Regions from separate parts of the Homo sapiens genome. Here all the other regions are linked to region 1. Evidence: promoter capture Hi-C in human tissues and cell types (Jung and others, 2019). All regions are on one chromosome and are shown on one strand. The core of a region is centred on a gene start or on the middle of the fragment in contact, and the rest is flanking DNA. Distances in the headings are between cores, read along the strand shown. Region 1 holds the start of ERC1 (ELKS/RAB6-interacting/CAST family member 1). Region 2 overlaps ERC1 (ELKS/RAB6-interacting/CAST family member 1). Region 3 overlaps NINJ2 (ninjurin 2). Region 4 overlaps ERC1 (ELKS/RAB6-interacting/CAST family member 1). Region 5 overlaps ERC1 (ELKS/RAB6-interacting/CAST family member 1). Region 6 has its middle 5.2 kb from the start of NINJ2.

Region 1 (3,277 bases), core at 258-2,757:
ACAGGGAGCAAGAATCCAGAAAAGAAGATTCTGATTTACAGTGCTAAGTTGTGAAAGAGTGATGTGAAGAACATTGAACACTGCTTACTCTAATATTTCCATACAAAGTGACACACCTGCCCCCAAAATGTTTTTAAAGCACTTGACTCCAAGAACATTTCTCAGAAATTGAGGAGCCTACCAAAAAAAAAGAGTTCCATTTCATTTTAAAGTGTTTTAATAAAGACTGCAAGAAACATAACTGCAAATGAGAAATAAAATTTCAACAATTTAGCACTGAACACAAAATGTCTAAAAGTCAAGGTGTACTGAGCAAGCAACACGCTATAAAAGACGGTTGTACTTTAAAACATTTAAGCATTTTTCATATAATTAGCTCCAACAGAACTATTCCAATTGTTCACTTTATCCACCCAAAGCAGTCAACCACAACCACCTGCAACTATTATTCAGCAATGTGCCTTCCAAAGCAACCACCTGAGTTTGGGGCCTTCTCTCAAGGGGCCAGGATAAAGCCTGTAAAAGGGTGGTATAAAGAGATCTTTTAGGCATTGGGGGGAAAAAAAACTGGAAGACACCACCTTGAAGGAGCTAAGCGTAATGCGACCCAAATGGTGGCTGCCGGAACGAAGTTGTCTAAACCGAAGATCTCCCTCTTCTTCGGTGTAAAACTTTCAGATACATCCACGCTCACAATTTACCTGAGCCAAAGTAAGGGGATTCTCTTCCCTCTCCGACCCCCCACCCACCCCGCCAGAAGAAAAAGAATCGAACCCTAAAGTAGAAACGTGAGATCTAGTGCAATAAAATAGGTTCTGCAACTGCCTCAAAGGCAACATGCACAGCTCATCGTCCTTTTGAAATACACTTCATCTTTTATCTCACCATTTCATCGAAAAGAAAAGAATCATCTTCAGCATTTTACATCACTCACCTAACCCAAAGATCCACCCTGACCGCACCCCAACCTCATGGCTCCCCAATTTCTCCGTCTCCCCACTACCTCGTCCGCGGCTTCACTAGTCCTAAGCCTCCCCCCCTCCGCTCCCCAAGTGCCCAGAGCCCCAGTCCCCACTCCCCCACCTCCCGCCCCAGGATCCCCACATCTACCGCCTCGGCTCCCGCCCGATCCCGGAGCCCGGCTGGGTGGAGCCCGCGGGTGGGCGCCGGTGGTCTGGGTGGGGCCCGCCCCTCCCCACCCCCCGGGCTGCCGAGGAGGGGGAGGGGGTCGCGAAGCCTCACCTACAGCTCCGCCCCTCCCCGGGGGCGCGTTGCCCTGCCCAGCCCAGCCCGGGCCGTGAGCAAGAAGCTGGGTAGGAAAGGCGAAAGCCTCAGCACTAGCGACAGGGGGGAAGCTCTGGGTCCCGCGCGACTTCCGCGCTGTCGCCGCCGCCGCGGCCGTCTCACCGTCCTCAGGGCTGCCGCTACTGCTGCTGCTGCCGCCCAGGCACCGCCGCCGCCGCCACTACCGCCGCCGCCGCCGCCACAGCACGGCCCAGGCGCCCGCGACGTCACCGCGCCCCGCCCCCTGCGCGAGACACCTAGCCCCGCCCCCAGCCCCGCCGCGGGGCGCAGCGCGCCTCCCCGGGCTCCCGGCTCGGCTGCCTCCCTTTCCCTCAGCCTCCCGGGAGCGTGACGCGGCGGCCCGGGGGCCTCCGGGCGCCTTCCGGGGCACGCGGGTGAGGAACTGGGAAGCGGGGGAAATCGGCGCCACGGCGGTCGATTAGCACCGAAACAGAGTGATGGGCGCGGAGCGTCCCTGCACACACACACACACTCACACACACACACACACGACCCCTGCGGCCACGGGAGGGGAGAGCCGGGGTCGGCTCCGCGAGCGCAGGGTGGCGCTTGTCTCCTCCTGCTTGCCGTAGGAAGTGGACGCTGGAAGCCCGAGGAGCCGCTTCGTGTCTTCCCAAACCTAAGCGGCGCCCCACCCCCTACTTCTCGTGGCCCGTTACGCCCGGGGCAGCCAAGCGCCGCGGGAGCAGCGCCGGGATCGACCCTGGCTGCTGGGGGGACGCTTTGTCCCAAGAAAGCTGGTTTTTTGCCCCTTAGCTTCGTGGAACGCGGCCGCGAAATTAGTGGTCTTCTGACCTGAGACTCGCGGGGCTGCGCACACGGGCATCGCCGAGGACCCCAGCAATGGACGTCGTGTCTGTGGTGATCCCGCCAGGACGCGGGGAGCGTGGGCGGAAATTAGTGTCCACGTTCCGACCCTGCGCTGTGCCAAACGCTGCTTCGGGAGCTGTTTATTTAGCCTCCGACAGCTAAGCGAATCGGCGGGCGGCTGGGGCCTGGTGCAACCCGATTTTCTCGTGCAGACTCGCAGCCGGCTTTGGTTTTGTTTTTTGTTTTTTGTTTTTTTTTTGGAGCCATGCAGAGGGTAGCTACAGCCATTAATTTAAGGATGTAGATAAGCTATCTCTAAACCAAGAAAGTAAGAATGGTGTGAATTATATTTATTCCCAGCCTTCCAGTGTTTATTAAAATAATTTTCGGTGTCCTTGAGAGGAGTTAAAAGCCATCATTTTACTCCTGCTTACCTCCGCCACCGTAATTAACCACTTTATACTGCCTCATAATCCCATTAACAAATTGCAGTCGCTCCTCAGCCTTCACATTCATTCACTCACCAGTTTCTACTGTTTCATCCTGCCCGGACTCTTAACTGTTCCCTCCCAGGATCGACATGCACTTGGATCATTGCAGTTTCTGGGCCTGCTGTCATCTCCCCCTTCAGTACTTCCCACATATGACTACCAACTGTTAGACGATGTGCTGCTGCCAGACCAGCCTTTCATTTCTTGGACATCCGGCTATTTACCCAGGAAAAGTCATCCTTTGACTATTTTTCATGACCTTTCTCATCTGACTCGTGATCTGCCCATCTTGTTACTCCCTAGCAGTGTGGTAAGGTAAGAGAAAATTCAACTAGGAGTCAATAGATATTTCTGTTCTCATTCTCCCACTGTCTACTTGTGTGGCCTCAGGCAATTCATTCTACTTGTGGTCTTACTTAACTGTAAAGTGAGGTTTGAAGTAGGTGTCTGAGATACATCATGTCCTTAAAATATGTGGATCTGGAGAATTAAGTTGCTAAGCGCTATGTTATACACGGAAATACTGTCCTAACACAGATTCAGATTTTTGTTTTTTATTTTTTGCCACCACACTGGCAAAAAATATTATTTCCTGCCCTGCTCCAGTTATCTTTTTTAAAACCTACGTTTAGGATTTTTGATTAAAGCTAGCTAACCGAGCACATGTATTT
Region 2 (3,277 bases), core at 232-2,731, 480 kb before region 1:
CCAAAGGCATGGAATCACCCACTGAACACAGCCCGTGGAGGCTGCTCCCAATCAACAGCTGCCCCAGCTACTCCCATGTTGCAGCACTTTCCAACGATCCCAATGCCCGTATGACAGCTGCTGGCAGCCTGCAGGGTGCCACACCAGACAGTGCTCAAGAGCTGGGCTCAAGGCTCCCACCAGCAGGACAGGGAGAAGAGAGCTGCGTGGAGTCACAGCCCTGCAGGAGACTCTTAATAAGATATTGTTAGTTATCTACTCTTCCTTTTTCTCCCTGCAAGAAATCCATAGTGCTTGGTTAGTGCACAACACCTAGCACAGACATGTATCTATCTGCTGTTATGCATTCCTGAAACACTCTGCTTGCACTAGAAGGCAAATGTCCCTGTGGCATCCTGCAGAGGAGTTAACATTCGTGAAGGAGAACAGTTACAGACAGAGATGCCTCTGACAGGCTAAGAGGACTTTCTTCCCAAGGTTGCACAGGGAAGTAGTGGGAAAAGGTCTGAAATGGAAGAAATGTCTAGTTCTAACTCTGCCACTTAGCTTTACCATCTTGAGCCTCTCTGTCCTCAGCTTCATTATGTGTATAAAGGGGAGATTAGATGATTTCTAAATTCTTTCCAGATTTAATAATCTGTGGCTAAATACAGCTCATCCCTGGTTTGCCTTATAAAATAACAGTAGAACAGTGATCCCTGAGAGCCTGCAGGCTCTTTCTTTCCTTTCTTTTCTCCTTTCTTTCTTCCTCCTTTCCTTTCCTCTCTCTCTCTTTTTCTGTCTTTCTTTTTTGATGGGGTCTTGCTCTGTTGCCCAGGCTGGAGTGCAGTGGCATGATCTCAGCTCACTGCAACCTCCACCTCCCGGGTTCTAGCGATTCTCCTGCCTCAGCCTTCCAAGTAGCTGGGACTACAGGTGTGCAACACAATGCTGGGCTAATTTTTGTATTTTTAGTAGAGATGGGTTTCACCATGTTGGCCAGGCTGACCTTGAACTCCTGACCTCAAGTGATCCACCCACCTTGGCCTCCCAAAGTGCTGGGATTACAGGCGTGAGTCGCTGCACCTGGCCCCTGCAGGCTATTTCTAGTTGGAGTTTTTTGCTTTCGTGAAGCCTTCCCCCTGCAGCTTTTCTGTCGTATCATACAGTGCTAAGAAAACTCATTACTCCATCTTTTCCATGAGTCTTTACCTTCTTGCTAGTTGTATTCTGACATCTATCTGTGGCTTACTTACTTTTAGAAGTAAGTATTTTTTGGTTCAAATTTAGGCTCAATCCTTGTAAAAGGTTGATGTGATTTCTCACATACTGTAGATCGGGAGTCTCCAACTCCCAGTACTGGGTCCGTGTACTGGTCCAGGCCCTGTTAGGAACTGGGCCACACAGCAGGAGGTGAAGGGCTAGCCAGGAAGCAAAGCTTCATCTATATTTACAGCCGCTCTCCATTGCGTGCATTACTGCCTGAGTTCCGTCTCTTGTCAGATCAGCTGAGGCATTAGATTCTCATATGAGCGCAAACCCTATTGTGAACCACGCACGCGAGGGATCTAGGCCGCGTGCTCCTTATGAGAATCTAATGCCTGATAATCTATCACTGTCTCCCATCACTCCCAAATGGGACAGTCTAGTTGCAGGAAAACAAGCTCTGGGCTCCCATGGATTCTACATTATGGTGAATTGTATAATTATTTCATTATATATTACAATGGAATAATAACAGAAATAAAGTGCACAATAAATGTAATGTGCTTCAATTATCCTGAAACCATCCCTTCCCTGCCACTCCCCTGTCTGTGGAAAAACTGCCTTCTGTGAAACCAGTCCCCGGTGCCGAAAACGTTGGGGACCGCTGCTCTAGATGTATCAGGTAGCCTAAAGTTGGAGAATCCTAAGAATAAAGATGCTCAATCATCAGGCCTGGGATACAATGAAGAGGTTAAGCTGGTTTTTAATCTGGCCATTGGGTCCCTCCCTTTTTTGAACCCTCCTTTTCCCAGTCTCTTCCTGTTTGTATCATCCTAGATACACTGGGCACGCTAAGGAGAAACTGACAACACACTGCCCTTCCTAGAAAACTTGCACTTAGAAAGGCAGTGCCTCAGAGAGATGCCTCATTCAAAGGAACAAACCGAACCACTGAAATTTCAGGCACGCAGGTCGGAGCCTTATCCAATATCCCATCACACTTTTCTGTTAAGTTGGCAATAAGATGTTAGTGTCCGAAGTTTGCTTTAGAGCTTACATTAGAAAAGAGTAAGATGTTTCCAGTCTGATAACATTAAAAACTACTATTTATCTTTAACAAGAACACCATGAGAAATCCCATCAATCACAACCTGATCTTTAGGGCTATTAAGCATCATTGCACTTTACAGCAAGATCTGTTATCTTTAGTGTTAAAATTAAAGACTCTCTTTCACTCGTTCAGACTATGCTAGGTAGGGGCACTTCCTTTTGTGCCTAGGTGGTCTTTTGTATAAAAAGAGGTAAACAAAGCAGGAAGATAGCATTTATACAGTGTAGAAGAATACCATAATCTTATCTCCGGAAAATTCCTGATTTCATTCAGTCGCTAAACAAGCACCTACTTCATATTTTATGGCTTTATGTCTCTTACACAACTCTTTTAGAAAGGGCCAGAGACTCAGTGCTTTTCTTACAGCATTCTTTATTGAAGTAACCAGCAGACCCTGAATGGCCCCTAAGGGAGTATTCAGTAATTACTGGACATAACAGATTCGCCAGGACCTCCTACCTTTTAACAGGCAGAGCCCCACAGTTTATTTGGAATGCAGTTTCCAGAGCTTGTTTGACAGTCAGTTATTTTGAAACCCTTAACAATTACCCAAGCAGTAGTTAGGTTCGGAAGTTGTTGCCATGAGCCTATTTTACCCATAATGTCTGTGGTGGGCTGAGCTGTGTCCCCACCAAATTCATAGGTGGAAGCCTAAATCACCAGAACCTCAGAATGATGTGACTGCATTTGGAGACAGGGCCTTTAAAGAGGCGATTAAGTTAAAATGAGGCAGGCAGGGTGGTTCCAAATCCAGTATGACTGGTATCTTTGTAACAGGAGGAAATCTGGACATACAGAAAGACACTGGGGAGCACAGGGAGAGAGGATAGACCACGTGAGGACACAGCGAGCAGGCAGCCATGTATACACCAAGGAGAGGGGGCCTCAGGAGAAACCAACCCTGCCGACCCCTTGATCTCGGACTTCCAGCCTCCAGAACTGTGAGGAAATCAATTTACGTTGCTTAAGCCACGCGGTCTG
Region 3 (3,277 bases), core at 261-2,760, 410 kb after region 1:
TGGTGCTGTTGAATCGTGGGGCTTCCTGGTGTGGGATTGTCCCCGGCGAACCTACTCTTTCCCTTTGGCCTCGTTTATTCCGGAAGTTGGTATGGACCCCTCTTGGCATGGGCAGTTCTACCATCTGCTCACGCTAAGGGTTAAGAGCTTGCAGCAGGGAAGCCCAGAGCCCCCAGAGCCCAGTGAATGGCGGGGAGAGAACCGCTGGCGGCAGGTGAAGGTCACTGCAGAGACAGCCTCCATTTCATGGCGGTGGAAATGCAGCCTTAGCGAAAAGAAGGATTTGCTTTTATTTATGTGTTTATTGAGACGGAGTCTCGCTCTGTCTCCCAGGCTGGAGCGCAGTGGCGCGATCTCAGCCCACTTCAACCTCCGCCTCCCCGGTTCAAGTGATTCTCCTGCCTCAGCCTCCCAAGTAGGTGGGACTACAGGGGCCCGCCACCACGCCCAGCTAATTTTCTTTTATTTTTAGTAGAGACGGGGTTTCACCATATTGGCCAGGCTGGTCTCGAACTCCTGATCCACCCGCCTCCACCTCCCAAAGTGCTGGGATTACGGGTGTGAGCGCGCCCCTAGCCTGCTTTTATTTTTAATTAAATTTTTGTTTTTGTTTTTGTTTTGAGAGACGTCTCACTCCATCCCCCAGTCTGAAGTGCAGTGGCGCAATCTCGGCTCACTGCAACCTCCACCTCCCGGGTTCAAGTGATTCTCCTGCCTTAGCCTCCTGAGCAGCTGGGATTACAGGCACCCGCCACCACACCCGGCTAAATTTTGTATTTTTAGTAGATATGGGGTTTCACTATGTTGGCCAGGCTGATCTCAAACTCCTCATCTCAGATGATCCACCTGCCTCCGCCTCCCAAAGTGCTGGGATTACAGGCGGGTGCCACCATGCTCGGCTAATTTTTTAATTTTTAGTAGAGATAGGGTTTCACTATGTTGGCCAGGCTGGTCTCAAACTCCTGACCTCAGGTGATCAACCCAGCTCAGCCTCCCATAGTGCTGGGATTACAGGCGTGAGCCACCGTGTCCAGCCAAAAAAGTTTTTCATGGAGACAGGGTCTCGTTATGTTTCCCAGGCTGGCTGGAACTTCTGGGCTCAAGTGATTTGCCCACCTCAGCCTCCCTAAGTGCTGGGATTAAAGGTGTGAGCCACCGCACCTGGCCAGGAAACGATTCTCTCCCCATCCCTGTAGTTCCAAAATGCCCTTGGAGAAAATGATAAGGACCATTTACATTTGCAAAGAACTTTACAGTTTGTAAACCACTTTCATAAACATCATTCTCAAACTGTCCTGTAAGTCAGGACAAATACTTAAGTACTAATTATCTGGTTGTTGCTTTAACATTTTGGGTTTTTTTTTTACTCCAAATGTTCATTGAAGAAAAATTAGAAAATACAGATAAAGCAAAAAAAGAAAATAATATCTGATATCCTATCGCCTCAAGACGATGCTTAATATTTTAGTCTGCACCCTATCAGATTGATCTAAGTATATAAATATAGATCCTTAAAAATAGGTTAATGCTATCACTGTTCTGTAATCTTACGATCCCCATTTTTAGTAGGTGACTGAGAGAGCTCCCAAGCCATGCAGCTATGAAGGGGCAGGGCCAGGTCTCGACTCCGCTGTCCTGGTTCTAAGTGTCCGCGTCCTCAAGCCAGGCTGCCACTCACACTTCGAGGCTTTGCAGGGGTTGACCGCCTCCATTTCATGGCTGTGGAAATAGAGCCCCAGCAAAAAAGAAGGGTTTGCTTTGGTTGGGCTCAGGGTTGGAGACCCCCAAGCTGTCCTGGTATCCCACAATTCAGCATGGGCAAGGCTGGGCCAAGCTGGACCTGGCTGCTCAGGAGTCCCCACCTCTGCCAAACTGGACTTTGCCTTACAGTGAACAGTCACAGCGATGACAGGGGTCAGCTGTCAGGCGGGAGGCCCAGAGGCGGCAGGTGCCAGGTGGCAGCCTCAGGCTGTGAAGGACTGACCCCAGAGAACAACTGGATATCTGTTTGGTGGCCTTGGAGGTCTCTCGCTCGTTAGTATTTTTAGAAAGAGGGTGAAGGCACAGCAGGGACCTGACACTTGCCTGGCTGCCCTGGGGCATCGCCCTGAGCTGTGGAAAGGGCACTTCTAGCCTGAATCTGGGCCAGCGCTAAAGGCAGGACTAGCATGCCTGCCTGCCTGCGCCCATTCATTCATTCACACTAGCATGCCTGCCTGCCTGCACCCATTCATTCATTCACTCTAGCATGCCTGCCTGCCTGCACCCATTCATTCATTCACACTAGCATGCCTGCCTGCCTGCGCCCATTCATTCATTCACACTAGCATGCCTGCCTGCCTGCGCCCATTCATTCATTCACTCTAGCATGCCTGCCTGCCTGCGCCCATTCATTCATTCACTCTAGCATGCCTGCCTGCCTGCGCCCATTCATTCATTCACTCTAGCATGCCTGCCTGCCTGCGCCCATTCATTCATTCACTCTAGCATGCCTGCCTGCCTGCGTCCATTCATTCATTCACTCTAGCATGCCTGCCTGCCTGCGCCCATTCATTCATTCACACCAGCATGCCTGCCTGCCTGCGCCCATTCATTCATTCACACCAGCATGCCTGCCTGCCTGCGTCCATTCATTCATTCACTCTAGCATGCCTGCCTGCCTGCGTCCATTCATTCATTCACTCTAGCATGCCTGCCTGCGTCCATTCATTCATTCACTCTAGCATGCCTGCCTGCGTCCATTCATTCATTCACTCTAGCATGCCTGCCTGCCTGCGCCCATTCATTCATTCACTCTAGCATGCCTGCCTGCCTGCGCCCATTCATTCATTCACTCTAGCATGCCTGCCTGCCTGCGTCCATTCATTCATTCACTCTAGCATGCCTGCCTGCCTGCGTCCATTCATTCATTCACTCTAGCATGCCTGCCTGCCTGTGCCCATTCATTCATTCACACTAGCATGCCTGCCTGCCTGCGTCCATTCATTCATTCACTCTAGCATGCCTGCCTGCGTCCATTCATTCATTCACTCTAGCATGCCTGCCTGCCTGCGCCCATTCATTCATTCACTCTAGCATGCCTGCCTGCCTGCGTCCATTCATTCATTCACTCTAGCATGCCTGCCTGCCTGCGTCCATTCATTCATTCACACTAGCATGCCTGCCTGCCTGCGTCCATTCATTCATTCACTCCTGAGCACACGCTCCCAGCCAAATTCTGTGTTAGGCACTGGAGGAAAGGATTCCCCAGGACTCTGGCCTAAGAGCTGCGGGAGGA
Region 4 (3,277 bases), core at 272-2,771, 400 kb before region 1:
TCTGCCCTCTAACACAAATCCTCATCTCAGTGGTCCCCTGAATAGTCTGCCTTACTGTCTTTAAGAAGTATCAGGAATATTTTTTTTTCTCCAGCACACTAAGTATAAAAGTACAACAAGAACTATACACACAGACAAACACTAAAAAGGCAGAGAGAAGGCAGACCAGTCAGGAGTGCTGTGACCTGCAGCTCCCTGGATCTTTCTGCCTTATATATCCAGAGGTAGAGCTGAAGAAGCCAACAACCAGGAAATGCCAACAGGCACAGACCAAAAAAGCTTCAACAGGAGCCCACTCTCTCTAGCCAAAGAAGCCTCCAAAGGAAAGGGACAGCCTAGCAACATAGAAACCTGTGGGACAACAATCACTCTATTCCAAAGACCATGTGGTCCCACTGTCACTCATGTCAGTAAAGACCAAGCGGCGGGCCCCATGCTCACCAGGTTGTGAGGAGGTGCTTCAGCCTCTCCTTGCTCCACTGGAAGGTGTCAGGGAAAGCCGAGGGAGGCAGGGCTATAATCTCCAACCATCAGCAATGAAGTCTCCCCTCCACAGTGTCACTAGAGACTAGGTGAGGATTCTAGAATTCCACCTCCATGGAGCAGTAACAGCCGTGTCTCCTGGTGGAGTCGGACCTTCACTACCGCACAGCAGTAACCAGGCCCCCCTTCCTTCACCCCCACTGTGTTAGTGGAGGCCTTCCTACCCTAACCAGGCAGGGATACACCAGTGAAGCCTAGTGGGGACATGAATACCCATCTCCACCTAGGAGTAACAAGAAGCCTCCACCCCTTGAGTGTCAGCAGGGTCCAAGTGGGAGAAACTGGACTTCTACCTCCACTGGGCAATACTGAGGCAGCACCCCATTCTTCCCCTGCTGGAGTGGTGTCAAAGAAAACCAGCTAAAACAGAAGTCTAAGTAAGACCCAGAGTCATATCGCATAACATCCAACATGTCCAGGTTTCAACTGAGAATCACTCAACATCCCAAGAACCAGGAAGACCTCAAACTGAATGAATAAAAGACAATTATGATTAAAGGCACAGCAGCGAACTGAAACATTCATCTTGCCAATAGGATTAGGTAATTAGGCAGCAACTGATCAGCTACCATAGCTGGACTACTGCTGGGCACCAGAAGTCAGAAACAGCTCTTAGAAGACATGCCAACATAGCTGCTCCCTCCCTCATCAAACTTGTCAGTAAGGCTTCATTAATTTCCTCTCCATTCCTGGAGTGGGATGGTTGAATCAGAGTGCGACTGTGTGTGTCTGGAAGTGACCTCAACTTAATCAGACCTCAACTCAATCAACTAGGAAACTTCTAGGGCAGGGCAACCTATTCCAGTCCCAGTTCTTGTAGTAATTTGACCATAGTGAATCCACAACTGGGTTCATTTAATACTCCAAAATTCATGGTTTGACCACAGTTTTATTTTGGTGGTGACTAAACTAACCCCACCTCCGGGAGATGAACTGACAGTACCTTTGGGCATCCTAAGCATGCTCTGGTAAGTACTTTTGACTTTCCTTCCAGTTTTTAGGTTCAGAAAAATTCATTCTTTGTCCCATGTTTCACCTTCCCATTTAGATTAATAGTAGTAAATGTTAATTTTATTAACTCAGTAATGTATCAATTTAGTAATTTTTACTTTTATCAATTTGAAAAATTAAACTTTATTATTTTTTAAATGTATTGATTTATTAATCAATATTAATAGACAGTTGGTATTTACTGTATCCTTGATTTTTTTAAAATTTTAATTTATGTCACTGTGGGTTACACTGTCCTAGAAATATATGGAGCCATACTGGCTAGTGATCAGTTCTAAATATATCAAGAGACAGGTTTATCGCTAAACAGGCTGACTTATCCCTGTTTAGATGTTTGTTATAAGCTAATCACTAATCATAACATACCAGTGTTTACTACTATAATTAGAAGGAAATAATCTACCAAAGAAAATAAAAATTTTAATAAAATGTCTACTGGTATTTTGAAGTATAATTTACCACCCAAATATACAAAGGTCACTTCCAGACACACACAGCCCCGCTATGATTCAACCATCCCACCCCATGAGTGGAGAGGAAATTAATGAAGCCTTAACGACAAGTTTGATTAGTTCATGAAATAAGTGTGTAACTTAAAATGGAGAGATTAACCTACTCAAGGGTTTTTTTGTTGTTGTTTCTTTAAAGGCACTACATATTTTTGCTTAGAGACTGAATGCAAAACAGATTTTTTAATGTAAGGTGCTTTTAAGGAAAATAGGCAAAATACCCGGGAATTAATAGGATTTGGACAGAATTCTTTTCTTGAGGGAGTGCTTTTCAAGACTACATTTATGTTAACTCTTTGGAGTATTCATGTAGCATTATCCTCATTTCCAGGAACAGAGCTTTATTAATTTATATATCAAATCAGCAAAATGGCTATGGGGTATATAAGATCACAATCACCTGTGATATATTGTGCCATAAATGCTTAAAGCATTTTCAACACATGTAAGACATGAAAAAAAGGTCTTAAAAACCCTAGAACTGCATAAAAACTCCTAGCAATGCATATCCAGTAGAGCCAATTCTGAAATCCATTACCAACAGGCTTACAGAGGGCATATGCTCATTGAACTATAATCTGTAAGGATGAAAAGAATGGCCTGTGTTAATATTTTAGTATGTGTCAGAAAACAGTAAAAAGTAAGTATAACTTGCCTATATTCTCTCTTAAGCAAGCTATTCCATTTTCATGGGTTTAAGTAGTATTTCTGTTCTGATGACTCCAAAATTATCATTTCTAGCTCTCATCTTTACCTGGAGCATCTCCAGCCAACGGCTTTCTTGATGTATCTATTTGGGTATAAATAACCTCGAATTCAACTCTACTAAAAATAAGCATGTTATATTCTCTTCCATATATGGCCTTTCTTCTTGATTACTCATTTTAATTAGGGAGACCACTTCCACTTACTTGGCCAGACCAGACATCTGACTGGCCAGTGGTCTGTGGGTAGTGACCGTGGGACCCAAGCATAGAAGAAACAGCACGGGAACCACCAATTACTTGTTCCTTTGCCACAGTGACCAAGAAGGCCTCATACTGAAAGAGCTAAAGGAGGAAATTTTTAGTAGAATTGGATTACTGAATTGCTGCATGGAGGGCAGCTTCCTCATAGAGCCGGCAAGATCTGCGGTGGACTTTGTGTAACCAAGAAATAAGCGTTTACTGTGTTAAGGCACTAAGATTAGGTGGTGTTTGATACACAGAATGGCC
Region 5 (3,277 bases), core at 310-2,809, 320 kb before region 1:
TTTTAAAACCTTTGATAAATACACCTAGTTGCCCTCGTTTACTACTTCAGACTATCTTTACACTCAAATACTTGTTTCTTTATATTCTTATTGCCACTGGGTATTACATCTCTGCTACTATGTTACATTTTTAGAAAGGAACTTTTTATTTAAATTTAATCTTCTTTTGTCATAAGTGAGGCTTAATATTTTCTTATAATTTTATTAGTCATCTGCGTGTATAGTTTTGTGAATTGCTTGATTATATTCTTTGCCTACTTTTCTATTATGATCAATGTTCTCATTTCATGGATGGAGAAACAGAGGCCCAGATAGGGTAAGTATTTTTCTTAAGGCTTTATAGTAAATGAATCACCTCTATGGAGTTAAAAATTTAAGGAACCTTCTCATCTTTCTAATACAATAGGAAATACTGATGAAGTAGACAGGATGTGGGTTAGCATGTCAGCAACATAGACTCACCATACCCTCCAGCCCATTATCACTACCACACACTTTAATTTAATTTAATTTATTATTATTATGTTTTTAGACAGAGTCTCACTCTGTTGCCCAGGCTGAAGTGCAATGGTGTGATCTGGGCTCACAGCAAACTCCGCCTTCCAGGTTCAAGCAATTCTCCTGCCTCAGCCTCCCGAGTAGCTGGGATTATAGGCACCTACCACCATGCCCGGCTGATTTTTGTATTATAGTAGAGACAGGGTTTCACCATGTTGGCCAGGCTGGTCTCGAACTCCCGACCTCAGGGGATCCGCCCAGCTTGGCCTCCAAAGTGTTGGGATTACAGGCATGAGCCACCGTACCCGGGCAAAAAAAAAAATTTTAGAATATTTAATACTTCCAGAAAAATACTGAAACGTCATAGGATAAATCAAAATGTTTTCGGTCTTTACATGTATTTTTTTCAATTTTTTGTACAATTTGATTTACATATGGGAGGTGATTAGCCTCTTTTTGGTGGTTGGTTAGTGCCTCTAAAGGTCTTATTCTAGCCTTGTAAGTCTATCTAGGATAGATAGAATTAAAGCAATATATGGAGTTATAACACGTTTCTGAACAGGAAAGTTGAATCTCTGTTTAATATCCATCCACTCCATCAACATCCTTTACTAACGGAATCTGGATTTTGCACTGGATAGTCACTGCCCAACTAAAACGTGATATTCCAGCCTCCTTTGCAGCCTGTTGTGTATAGAGGGTGGGCACGCTACAAAGTTCTGGCCAGTAAGAAGAAGAAATCTAGTGGGTGGGTCTTTGATATGGTGATTGTTGTTTAACCAGTTGGCACGTCCCTTTTCCCCCTTGTCTTTCTTCATATTCTGGAATATGTAGGAAAGGCTTCTGTATGCCACCATTTTGCAAGCAGGAGGAAGAAGGCCATATACTAAGGATAGCGGAAAAGAAAGAGCCCAGAACCATTGGTATCATGGAGCCACTGTAGCAGCCCCAAATTGCCTATTAATAGAATAAACCCTTATTCTATTAATCTTTTCTTATGGTTTTATTGCAATAGGAGCATCTTTTGGATGTTCATTAAAAATGAACTAAGAGAACCCTAAGTGATACTGCTGTAACCTGCCAAAAGTAATGATGGAGAGTTAAGAAGACTGGCTGCCAGGAATAACATGATAAATGTTACAGTGAAAGTGGCTGCAGGAGAGACAGAAGGGGACTTTAAAAGTAGAACTTTTAAAAACAAGCTCAACTCATGAAAGAAATGACCAACTCATAAATATAGTGGATGACTCAAGCCTAAAAATACATGTAATTTAACAGAAACAATTATCTTGGAAGTGAGGTAAGAATCAACCAAAGTCAATATATTAAATGTCTATATGTAAAAAAAACTGCTTTGGCCGGGTGTGGTGGTTCACGCCTGTGATACCAGCACTTTGGGAGGGCAAACTGGGCAGATCACTTGAGGTCAGGAGTTTGAGACGAGCCTGACCCACATGGTGAAACCTCGTCTCTACTAAAAATACACAAATTAGTCAGGCATGGTGGCAGGCACCTATAATCCCAACTACTCGGGAAACTGAGGCATGAGAATCACTCAAACCCGGGAGGTGGTTGCAGTGAGCCGAGATCCCGCCACTGCATTCCAGCCTGGGTGACAGAGGAAAAAAAAAATTGCTTTACTTCTCTGAGAAACAAATAATACAATGTCAAGGAGTCAGAGGTGCCATCAGTGGGTTAGGAGGACACAAGCAAACAGACTGACTCTGGCAACTGATTTTCTTTGATACCTTTACTGCTTAAAGCTAGAGGTCAAGCTCAAGGTACTGAAGAGACAGCAGCATAAACTTCAAAAGAAAAAGTCAATATGGGGTATGTGATCATACCACTGATTACACAGAGATGTCAGGAACTCCACTTACTCCTGTAGCTGTTGATGAAAAAATAGAAATAGTAGCTACAAGCAGCAGAAAATGTGTTTCTAGGAGAAGAAATTATGCTGTCCAACCCCTGCACTGAGATGCAAAAGACAAAATCATGTTCTTGAGGAAAAATGGGGACATAGTTTTCAAATAATAAACTATATATTGGGTAGCATAAGAAATAATTAGTTTAATTTTACATAGTGGAAATTCAATCATATAAAGTCAATGGGAAAGTTTTTATACTGCTCAAATTTTATCAAATTTCCTATCATCCAGCTGGTGAAAAGACTTAGTTTTGGCCACGTATCTCCATAGAAAAAAAGACAAAGCATGGCTACTTCAAGTGAAATAGCCAGAAAAATAACTGATAACTCTATGAGTAAAGCAATTGCATCTTTTTGAGGAATCAATAGAATAGTGCTTGCACATTTTATGCCAACTGGATCGGTACCATTTCCAAGAATTTCTGGTCTAAAATAAGTTGGTAGTTGCCTGATACACGAGAAAAACTATTACCACTTCACATACATAGAAAAAAAAGACTGTTTCAGATGCTCACGGGAAAAAAAGGTCCCCATTAATAGGACAACTATGTATTTAGGTTAGAAGTGACAATAAAAATTAGGTTAATAAATTATTTTCCTATAAATAAGAAAGATCAAAGGCATATCTCTCTTGCTATCTTAGGCATATAAAATCCTTTTTACTAATCAACTAAGGCTGATCTCATACCTCTAATCAACTAAGGCTGATCTCATACCTCTAACACTACTGAAGTTTGACAAAAACAAACATTGATAAATTTAATGTTGTATCAACAGAACAGGGGAGAGAAGTCAGTGGTCAATTTTTCTTGCCAAGTAGTTTTGTCTGTTTTACGGCTCTTAGAAATTCTA
Region 6 (3,277 bases), core at 488-2,987, 320 kb after region 1:
AAGTAGCTGGGATTACAGGCGCCTGCCACCGCGCATGGCTAATTATTTTTTTTTTTGTATTTTTTTTTTTTTAGTAGAGCGGGGTTTCATCACGTTGGCCAGGTTTGTCTTGAACTCCCAACCTCAGGTGATCCAACCGCCTTGGCCTCCCAAAGTGCTGGGATTACAGGTGTGAGCCACTGCTCCTGGCCTTTTTTTCCTTTTTTAAATATCACTTCAAGACTTGAAACCTCCACACAATTTTGTGTGACTTGGGGTTGCCCAGCCCCCCCACACACCAGCCCTTAGAGGCTTATTACCATATGCCTCCTGAGCAGAAGTCCATTGGTTCCCAAGAGGTGCCTTAAGGGGCAGCTCGAGAAATGGAACGGGGCAGTTGCGGGGGGTAGGTGGCGGGACAGATAGGGCAGAAGTGGATGTGACTCTAGCATTCAAACAGCTTCACTTTAATCTGCTTTATGTTAACTTCCACATAAGATTACGTTTAAGAAAAGGATTTCTTATCTTTAAAAAGTTTGCAAACCACTGATCTTTGTCTCTCTCCTATCACTAAGAAAAGATCATCTATTCCTCTCCCTTAAGCCACCAAGAGAGTGCCAGGCACCTTTTTTTTTTTTCTGAGACGGAGTCTTGCTCTGTCGCCAGGCTGGAGTGCAGTGGTGTGATCTCAGCTCACTGCAACCTCCCCCTCCCGGGTTCAAGCGATTCTCCTGCCTCAGCCTCCCAAGTAGCTGGGACTACAGGCGCGCGCCACCATGCCCAGCTACTTTTTTTGTATTTTTAATAGAGACGGGGTCTCACCATCTTGGCCAGGCTGGTCTTGAACTCCTGACCTCGTGATCCACCCGCCTCAGCCTCCCAAAGTGCTGGGATGACAGGTGTGAGCCACCGCGCCCAACCGGAGGCTCTGTTTTTAATCATTCATTGAACAGTGAGTCACAGTTAAAATCCCCCTCCTCTGAATGTGAAAGAGTGAAGGGAAATTTTACTCACCACCACCAAGAGCATCCCCAGGCCTCGTGGGGCATTCCCACGAGAGCTGTGTGCCCTGACTTCCTATTTGTGTGAAGTCAGGCCCCGTGAGCATCTATCAAGGCGTGAGCAGCCAAATAGAAGTGACACATACACAATGACAGGATTCTAAATGTGGAATTTTGGTTGATAGCTCCACTGGCCGAGAAGGTGGCTACTAGCTACTTAAATGTAACCACGTAAATGTGAACTTAGAGGCTGGGCGCAGTGGCTCACGCCTGTAATTCTAGCACTTTGGGAGGTCGAGGTGGGCGGATCACCTGAGGTCAGGAGTTCGAGACCAGCCTGGTCAACATGGTGAAGCCACGTCTCTACTGAAAATACACAGAAAAATTAGCTGGGCATGGTGGTACACGCCTGTAATCCTGGCTACTCAGGAGGCTGAGGCATGAGAATTGCATGAACCTGTGAGGTGGAGGTTGCAGTGAGCTGAGATCACGCCAGCACACTCCAGCCTGTGGGACAGAGTAAGACTCTGTCTCAAAAAAAAAAAAAAAAAAAAAGTGGGGGGTGATTTTAGGCCAGGCACAGTAGCTCATGCTTGTAATCCCAGCACTTGGGAAGGCTAAGGTTGTGGATTACTTAAGCCCAGGAGTTCGAGGTTGCAGTGAGCTATGATTGTGCCACTGTACTCCAGCCTGGGTGACAGAGTAAGACCCTGTCTCTAAAATAAATTTAAAAATAAATAAAATCAAAATATGTGAATTTATTGAAACTAAATCAGATTTAAAACTCAAATTCCTACTCAGCCAACCAAATTTCATGTGCTCAATTGGCTAATGTGGCTAATGGCTACTATATTGAAGAGTGAAGATGGAAATGTTCAATAACATTTACTGCACTACCAGCTCCCTCCATAGGCCCTCAGAAAGCTTCCCTTTGCCATCCCTGTTGGCCCTGGGATTCCTGGAGAAGTGAATTTGAAAGCAGCTGAGTTCATGTGTAAATGGGCATAAGCAAGTTTGTAAGAATGTTTTGAAGTCAGCTTTTATTCTCACTTCTGTATCTTGTTTGACGTGGGTATGCCCTACTCAGTCTCCATGAGCAGGGGCAACAGACAGTGGTAATTTTCCCTAAAATTTTTCTAATTACATAAATTTTCCATCAGGGAAGGTCTTATTGGTAAAATTAAACTAAAAGCATTAGATTCTTCTTGCTCTGCTTCAATTTTTTAAAAAGCCAATAATTTCTAGCCCTCAACTTTTACACACTGAAATTCAGACCTGTATCTGAGATTTTATATTGTTACACAGGAAGTATTTAATATAAACTTTTTTTTTTTTTTTTTTTTTTTGAGACAGAGTCTCACTCTGTCACCCAGGCTGGAGCGCAGTGTTGTGGTCTCGGCTCATTGCAACCTCCACCTCCTGGGTTCACGCCATTCTTTTGTGCCTCAGCCTCCCAAATAGCTGGGATTACCGGCATGCACCACCAGGCCCAGCTAATTTTTGTATTTTTAGTAGAGAGGGGTTACACCATGTTGTCCAGGCTGGTCTCAAACTCCTGACCTCAGGTGATCTGCCTACCTCGGTGCTGGATTACAGGTGTGAGCCACGACACCTGGCCAAAACACACATTAGAAACAGAATTTAAGAGCTAGAGGGATCTTAGGAATCAACTCTTTTGATAGCTTCACATTCACAAACAAGAATGTAAGCCCCAGAGAAGTTAAGTGACTTGCCTAAAAACACAGTGACTCAGCACACAGAGAGGAATCCAGGCCACCTGGCTTTCACCCTAGAGCTTTTCCCACAATTCAAAATTAAAGGATCTTCTTGCTGTTGCCTTCTTCAGTACCCTACAACAATGCTTTGCTCCTTCTACATAGCAAGATACCTAGGGTCTCATTGTAGACCCCTCATTCCATGAAACTAGACTCAGAGTAGTTTCTGAGTCACTCTGAGTGTCTACTTATCTGTAAGTTCAAGGATATTCCAAAATATGCTTTCCAAGAGACAGTCTCCCTAAAAATGTCCCTCTGGCTTTACACCACAAAAATCACCCTAGCAGTAAAGAACAATAGAAACCATTTCCACCCACAGTGATAACCTCCACGTAGGTGCAGTTTCAGCACCAGCCAAATGGCAGCAACACTCTTCACTACAGCTTCCCTTGCCATCAGTTGTCTCACCAGGGCGTGCATGTGGTGCTTTTATATCCCCGCAGTGTTTAACCCAATATCCACGTGGTAGAGACTCAGTAGTTGCCTCTCAAGTGGGAATTAGACTTCAAAGACTCTGATTAA

The links. The method cuts DNA at HindIII sites, captures the fragments that hold promoters and counts their contacts. A contact is called where the count stands out against the background at its distance.
Region 2: a contact is called between a fragment that was not itself captured here and the fragment with the promoter of ERC1 in region 1, in 1 of the 25 tissues and cell types used here (lymphoblastoid cells).
Region 3: a contact is called between a fragment that was not itself captured here and the fragment with the promoter of ERC1 in region 1, in 2 of the 25 tissues and cell types used here (dorsolateral prefrontal cortex and mesenchymal stem cells).
Region 4: a contact is called between a fragment that was not itself captured here and the fragment with the promoter of ERC1 in region 1, in 1 of the 25 tissues and cell types used here (heart left ventricle).
Region 5: a contact is called between a fragment that was not itself captured here and the fragment with the promoter of ERC1 in region 1, in 1 of the 25 tissues and cell types used here (dorsolateral prefrontal cortex).
Region 6: a contact is called between a fragment that was not itself captured here and the fragment with the promoter of ERC1 in region 1, in 1 of the 25 tissues and cell types used here (hippocampus).

The regions. Positions count from the first base shown.
Region 1 is chr12:989,453-992,729 of GRCh38, reverse strand. It overlaps ERC1 (ELKS/RAB6-interacting/CAST family member 1), which reads right to left and starts at 1,507. Exons shown (of 19, transcript NM_178040.4): 1 at 1,408-1,507. It also overlaps a transcript of RAD52 not described here. RefSeq lists silencers at 693-987, 1,193-1,702, 1,723-1,832, 2,243-2,292 and enhancers at 991-1,552, 2,114-2,676. The HindIII fragment of the contact is 12,512 bases long and covers 1-3,277 here.
Region 2 is chr12:1,466,115-1,469,391 of GRCh38, reverse strand. All of the region lies in intron 18 of ERC1 (ELKS/RAB6-interacting/CAST family member 1), which reads right to left. LOC124902856 (a long non-coding RNA gene) reads right to left here. Exons shown (of 2, transcript XR_007063156.1): 2 at 2,652-3,277. Among named protein-coding and RNA genes, the nearest start is that of LINC00942, 33 kb to the left of the region's middle. The HindIII fragment of the contact is 3,956 bases long and covers 1-3,277 here.
Region 3 is chr12:582,148-585,424 of GRCh38, reverse strand. All of the region lies in intron 1 of NINJ2 (ninjurin 2), which reads left to right. Among named protein-coding and RNA genes, the nearest start is that of NINJ2-AS1, 47 kb to the left of the region's middle. RefSeq lists a silencer at 1,488-1,782. The HindIII fragment of the contact is 8,623 bases long and covers 1-3,277 here.
Region 4 is chr12:1,388,827-1,392,103 of GRCh38, reverse strand. All of the region lies in intron 16 of ERC1 (ELKS/RAB6-interacting/CAST family member 1), which reads right to left. Among named protein-coding and RNA genes, the nearest start is that of LINC00942, 110 kb to the left of the region's middle. The HindIII fragment of the contact is 7,264 bases long and covers 1-3,277 here.
Region 5 is chr12:1,311,236-1,314,512 of GRCh38, reverse strand. The region is part of intron 15 of ERC1 (ELKS/RAB6-interacting/CAST family member 1); the gene reads right to left. Among named protein-coding and RNA genes, the nearest start is that of LINC00942, 190 kb to the left of the region's middle. The HindIII fragment of the contact is 3,459 bases long and covers 1-3,277 here.
Region 6 is chr12:666,996-670,272 of GRCh38, reverse strand. No RefSeq gene overlaps it. Among named protein-coding and RNA genes, the nearest start is that of NINJ2, 5.2 kb to the right of the region's middle. RefSeq lists an enhancer at 3,131-3,277. The HindIII fragment of the contact is 6,399 bases long and covers 1-3,277 here.